2 separate regions of the Homo sapiens genome follow, and region 2 is linked to region 1. The links are contacts of gene promoters, found by promoter capture Hi-C in human tissues and cell types (Jung and others, 2019). All regions are on one chromosome and are shown on one strand. Each heading gives the region's core, a stretch centred on a gene start or on the middle of the fragment in contact. The rest is flanking DNA. Distances are from core to core; before and after follow the strand shown.

Region 1 (3,467 bases), core at 413-2,912:
AAGAGTTTGATGCCAATTTGCTATAGTCCTCCCACTCCTCAACCTTCAAATCAGGACAACTAGCAAATGCCTTCCAGCCCCTAAGGAGGCCTGGGGCTCCTGAGCAGGGACAAAGTGGGCCTGCCAAGCCCACTTCTCAGAACGGGACCCACAGCTCTCCTAGGTGATACCTCCCACCTTCTCTCCAAGGTGGCTCATGACAGCCCTGTTCCCTCCACTTCCATCAGCCTAGACAACAATTTGCTAATAATAAAATCACAAAGGAATAAGCAACTGCAAAAGTCAGGCCCTGTGCACAGATGATCCCATTCAGTCCTTACAGCATTCCTATCTGGTAAGGATCATCTCTAGCTACAGGTAAAGAAAGCCACTTCCTCAAGGTCACATAGCTACAAAGAAACAGAGCCAGGATTCCAGTCTGGGTTAGCCCGACCCAGACAGAGCCTATTCCCCATCAGCTCAGCCCATTGCCTCCTCTAAGCATCAATGTCTGCAATATTCACTGGACATCTGCTCTATACAGAGCACAGCACTAACTATGCTAAAAGAGACAGAAGCCTCAAATCCTCACCTTTTAGGGACAACTAATTGAGGTAGGAGAAAGCACATACAGAGCTCAACAGCACCTCTGAAAAACCACCCATGAGTGCAAGGAGAGCATGCAGTCACCCAGTGGAACTTTGTAGCAGGGAGGGGTGCTGAGCAGAAAAAGAATGAGTACAAGGGAGATAGGAATACAGAAGCCCCCTTGAAAGATGCAAAGAACAGAAATCAATCCAAAGGTGATGTGAGCAACCCCAGGCAGAAGCAATGACATATTCTAGAGCCAGGGAATGAGAATTAAATGTCCAGCGGAGAAGACAGAAAAGCAGCCTGCTATTGTGAGTAGAGGGAGGGGATTTTTCTAAGGGTGACCTCACCATAGTGAGAAGGAGTCTTCTGAGAACTTCTGAGAACCCAAAGTAGAGCAGGTTAATTTTCTGTTAGGCAAGAGGGATCAGTGGGTCAGTTCTTTACTGGGGGAAAGGTAAATGCAAATTGGCATCTGAGGGAAGTTTTCCCAGGGGCATCTGAGGTTAGCAGGGACTAGTTCCCATCACCCAGCCAGGATGACAAACCACTTGAGTTAGGTTGCTGGATTAGAAAGGACATCTAACAATCTCAGTGACAAAATCATTATTAGTTTGGAAAACCTAAATTTTAAAATTAAATATATCTTGGAATGGTGGATATTTATGGGGTGAAAAATGAATATCTTAGAATTAACCAAATTTTATTTTCTTACAGTTGGTCCTGGCTTGTGCAAGGTGAGAAAGGGTTTTTTTATGTGGGCTTTAGAAAAATGAGTCGGATAACCAGGGAAAGTTCAGGTTTTGTGACCTGTTTACCATCATTCCGATTATGATAAAAGGGGTTTTTTTCCCCTACTGTTTTAAATTCACCTCAGAAGAGGCAAAAGGCTTTTAGGGGATCTTCCAAAAGTTAGTACTGCATAAGTAGTTGGAGAAATATGATCACTGACTGAAATAAGTTCCTCCCAAGGCCTGAGCCCTGGCTTACCTGAACTTCCAACGCTGAGCCACAAAATGAGGCCCCCCACCCAGAAGCAGCTCTCCCAGGGACCTGGGGGCATCGCTGAGCTGGAAATCTCAGAGCTGGTATGGAGTAATTCCCTAAAGCCAAAGAGATCATATAACCCAGCCTCTCAGAAAACACCCACGTGGATTTCACTAATCATTAACTAGCCTCATGACCTGAAAAGGAAAAATAAATTCTTCTTTATTTATTTAAATGCCAGAGTTTTCGGTTTCTTCTTCTCAATGAAAATAAATACACTTTCTTTTTTGTTAACCAGAGTGCATTGAAACACACTGTCCCTCTTTGAGCCAAACATGATCAGGAAACTATTTCCTGCACCTCTCCCACTTCCCGTGATAGGATGTTAGTAATAACCAAGGCAGAAGTCCTGCATCTCTGGGTGGCCAGAAACCCCTCATTGTGTTGGAATTATCTGTGGACATGTGTGTCTCCCTAGAAGATTCTGAGTGACTTGAGAGCAAAGGCTTTCTCTTTTCATTTTTGAATACCCAGTGCCTAGCACAAGACTGAGATAATACTATATATTAAGTGTCCATTTAAAGGGAAGAAGGGAAGAAAAAGTTTCCTCTGGAGAGTACTATCATTTTGTAGAATCTTGGGGCTAGGAGTCAAGTCCAACTTTGGAGATGTTCAACTTCCTGAATTCACAAAGAAACTGCATATTAGAAAAAGAAAATGACCTGTAGAGATCCCGTTGGTGGAAGTGGCAGAGCCGGGCCTGGAACCAAGATGGTTCCAGCACCATATGGCCTCTCCACCCCAAAGAGTGGCAGAAACCACAAAGAGCTATTTCTAGGCAAGTCAATGGGGCAGAGGCAGAGGGCAGGGCACTTGCCCCCCACTCCCTAAATCATAACACATTGCTGTGAGGTAGACAGCCCACTGGCAGGGCCAGGATCATCTTTTCCAAACAATAACTCTCTGAGGTGAGTATTATCACAGAGAAGTTAAGTAATTTGTACAACAAATTACTTATTTGTATTATAATTGTATACAAATTACTTAACTGTGACAATTACACAGTTAGTAAGCACAGATAAGTACAAATTACTTCTCTGTGATAGAAGTAATTTGTATTAAATACAAACATTTGTGTTTTACACAGCTGGTAGGGCACAGAGAATTTAAGTCATTTGCCTGAGGTCATGCAGAGCTGGGATTTAAAGCGGGATGAGCCAGCCCCAGAATCCATGCTCTGAGCAACGATACTCTACAGCAACAACTCCTGAAGAGGCTCTGGGACCATGTCATCATGGCTGAACGCAGGATACAATTATTTTGGAGGGGCTAGCCCTTACATCCCCTTGTGCACATGATCTCACTGCTCAAGTGCTGCTGCAACCAGGAAGGGGTGTGGCAATAAGTAGTGCACAGCAGAGGTCACTACTGAAAGCTGTCTTGATATTAGAGACCAAGCCAAGTGTATGAGTTCAGGTCCTCGGAGAAGAAGATGCCAAGGTAAGACAAGATATGCAAGAGATTTATCGAGCTAACACCTGTAAAGAATAAGAGGTACTAGAGAAGCCAGGAAGCGCCTTTAGATGGTGGTGAACATCTGATACCTGTGAAAGAGAATGGGCAGGAAAGAGAGGATTACATAGGAAGAGTCTCAGGCTGCAGCACAGTTTCTAGAATATTCTGACCAGGCCAATGGGGACTCCTCAGGCCAAAGTCTTTTGTGACAGCAGATGTGTTTTGTAGAAATGAGCCTGCATTAGCAGCCACATCTTGCTTAGTCATTAGCTGAGGTCAGCCTCAGCACAAAGACAGAGGTAGATTCAGAAGACAGCAGCTGGAGCCATCAGTCAATCATTTTCCCTACAGCAGGAGAACTGAGGGCTGTTTTCCTAGCCACCCACACCGTGGCC
Region 2 (3,467 bases), core at 481-2,980, 110 kb after region 1:
GGCATGAAGGCACAAAAAGGGAACCTGAAATCCAATTGCAATAATTACTCATGCAATTGGCCTCTTTCTATGTGGCATTATAGAAACCTCCTGAGTAACACAGTTTATGGTTTTACAAAAGAGAACTCCTACATCATTGCATGGCATGGCTACCGCTTCCTTAGACCATTCAGAGAATGATCCCCAAGTATTTTTCATAAACCCCATAGGGTTTCCTACATTAAAATAAAGTGACAGAGATCACGCCTTGAATAATTTCACAATTCCAGCAATGAGTTGTACTACTTCCAAATGACGAATTTTCTGCTCCAAATAATGGGACAAAGGGCATCATCACATGGACACAGTCAATTTCACAGTGATGGACTCACACAGGTGGATGATCTGAGGCACAAGCTGTGATTGGTCTTAAGAAAATGAAAGGTAGAGTTGGGTTCAAAATCCACATCTCACGATTTCTGGTCCTTATTCATCCAAAAAGTTGAACTGCTTCATATCAGTGTATTAGACACATTTTAAATCTTTCTCAAGAGTTGCTCTGGGTGCAGCATGATAAGGAAAACCAGGTATTTGGCTTGATAGCAGATATTCAAGGTATAGGTGCCAAGCTTATGGTAAGCTTCTCACCGTAGGATATCTGAGATCTGTTGCCACAAAGAGGACTATGGTCCTATGATGACTACTATAGTTCAGTTTTCAACATTTTGGGAATAATTTGATCATAACCTTTCCTTCTCGTTACATTATAAGACAGGAATTTAGAGTATTCACTCAAGAGGTTCTCCCAGTAACAGGTGATGTCATCCATCTGCAAATGGTTCCTAATAAACTGGCTTCCCCTAGAGACAAGATTTAACAAGAAAATGTTAAAGCACAGAATTTAATGATAATAGCAGTCTGCATTTGAGTGCTCACCTTGTGCCAAGCATTATTCAGCATTTTATATAAATTAATTCATTTGAGCCTCAAGAACCAACCCTATGGCAATCATATCCACATACATGCATGTAGCAATACAACTTAACAATCTTTTTCCTTTATTTATTTATTTATTTATTTATTTTTTGAGACGGAGTTTCGCTCTTGTTGCTCATGCTGGAGCGCAATGGTGCGATCTTGGCTCACTGCAACCTCCGCCTCCCGGGTTCAAGTGATTCTCCTGCCTCAGCCTCCCGAGTAGCTGGGATTACAGGCACGCACCACCACACCCGGCTAATTTTTTTGTATTTCTAGTAGAGATGGGGTTTCACCATGGCTAGGCTGGTCTTGAACTTCTGACCTCAGGTGATCCGCCCACCTCGGCCTTCCAGAGTGCTGGGATTACAGGCGTTAGCCACCACGCCCGGCCCATCTTTTTCCTTTAAAACAAGCATATGTAGACATGTGTGTATGTTTTCCCCCAGGACAGGTTTAGTTCTGAATTATCTCCATATAATGAGGATAAAATACAGATGTCACCATGATAACAATATTCAGATAACTTTGGCTAGGGCATAATGGGGATGACAAAAAGTAAAGTGGAAAAGGGAAAATGAACAGAACTCACCTTTCAGCAATCTCTTGAGCTACATCATCATTTGCTTTTACAAATTGTAACAGCTCTCTAAAATGAAAAGAATTTTAGACTGTGAAATATAGACCAACTTCATTGGCACTAAGTCAGAAAGACGATATAGATTGAGGTCTATGGATAATTTTAGGTATGTGGATGGTGGATTATTTCCTTCAAGCAAAGATATCAGGGTTCTCTCAAGAACAAAATAATAACAAAAAAAAACCCCCACACACTGATTAAAGATACCCTATTGTAGATTTGGGACATATTTGAGAAAATACAGAAGTTACCTTATATATTTACATATATTTTGTATATTTATATTATATATTATATTAGATATTTATATTATTTTACATATTTATATATAAATATATTTATATATAGAAAAAAAATATATATACACAGATATCACCATGATAACAATATTCAGATAACTCTGGCCCTTCTCTATACTTCTTCCTAGCTCCTCCTGTCATGAAAGGAAATTTGCTGAAGCTTCACTTGAGTCAATTCTCATGCTGTATCTGAAAATCCTTTTGACAATATAATAAGATTGAATATCCCTATCTTTAGTCTTGGAGAGATTAGAGCTTTTTAACTTCATTTTGTCTGAACGTTTCATTTGAAACCAGTATTAAAGCGCTTTTTCAAATTAAATTCCACTTATAGCCTACTTGGATAATAATGCAATACTATATATGCAAACCAAGAGGAAAAAAAGCTTTCAATGGAAAAAAATCGTAGGACTAAATGTCTTACATGACTGGTTTTAAGGCATTAAGGCATTTTTAAAAGCAGATTGGAAGGGTCTTTAGAAACTCTGCATTGGGGGATAACTGCTTACTGGACATTGGAGAGATCTGTTTTGACTGGGATATAGTGAACCCATGGCTTCAGCTGTGGATAGAAGAATTCTAGCCACTCATCACCAACATGGAAAACAAGTGAGCCACACAGGAAGAGGTGTTTAAACCGGAAACTTGCAGCTACGCCTCGAAAATTAAACAGATACCTGGGGAAAAAAGAACAAAATACATTTGATACTATATGCCTGCTGCCACAAATATGACCTTTTATGCTTATTCTCCCCTCCCCTTCTTTCCTTTTATGATTCCTCTCCATTCTCTTTCCACTTTGAGTTTTCAAGGACACATTAATATGTTCCTAAGTGGTTTCTATCAGCCACTTTACCAGGGCTAGGACTACAGGTTGTTCTGGGAATGGCAGGGTGAGGAAAAATAGGGGATATTTTCTCCAGACAGCACTAGATAGGGTCAGGAGCTGGGTGCCGGGTAGAGTGTATACAGGGCTCAGAAGGAAATGACAGCTTGTAGATTTGGAACATATCTGAGAAAATAAATGTTCAATGGTAAACATAAAATAAAACGAGTGAAAAAAATTTCACAAGCTTTTCTAGGCCTAATGTCTCTAACTAGTCATGGCCTCCCAAAGCCTTGTTTTTCCTCTAGTGTACCCCATCTGGTCGAAGGTCTCCACTGCTTCCTGGACATCACCCTCTTCTCTTAAAGTATAGAGCAGCGGTCCCCAACCTCTTTGGCACCAGGGACCAGTTTCATGGGAGACAATTTTTCCATGGATGGGTAGTGTGGGGGAGATGGTTTTGGATGAAACTGTTCCACCTCAGATCATCAGGCATTAGTTAGATTCTCATAAGGAGCACGCAACCTTGATCCCTTGCATACACAGTTCACAATACAGTTTGTGCTCCTATGAGAATCTAATGCCAAGGCTGATCTGACAGAAGGCAGAGCTCAGGCGGTAATGCTCGCTTCCCCACTGCTCACCTCCTGCCATGCAGCCTGGTTCCTAATAGACCAGTACCATGGCAGGGGGTTGGGGACCCCTGGTGTAGAGAGGAGAATGAGGAAAACCTAATCAATTTTCAGAG

The links. Contacts are between HindIII fragments. The study calls those that stand out against the background at their distance.
Region 2: a fragment that was not itself captured here is called in contact with the fragment with the promoter of PLA1A in region 1 in 2 of the 25 tissues and cell types used here (H1 embryonic stem cells and spleen).

What each region holds. Positions count from the first base shown.
Region 1 is chr3:119,596,080-119,599,546 of GRCh38, reverse strand. It overlaps PLA1A (phospholipase A1 member A), which reads right to left and starts at 1,662. Exons shown (of 11, transcript NM_015900.4): 1 at 1,561-1,662. The coding sequence starts at 1,633. RefSeq lists an enhancer at 794-983. The HindIII fragment of the contact is 21,246 bases long and covers 1-3,467 here.
Region 2 is chr3:119,489,654-119,493,120 of GRCh38, reverse strand. It overlaps POGLUT1 (protein O-glucosyltransferase 1), which reads right to left. Exons shown (of 11, transcript NM_152305.3): 9 at 2,403-2,570; 10 at 1,547-1,603; 11 at 1-839. The coding sequence ends at 683. Among named protein-coding and RNA genes, the nearest start is that of TIMMDC1, 7.2 kb to the left of the region's middle. The HindIII fragment of the contact is 5,887 bases long and covers 1-3,467 here.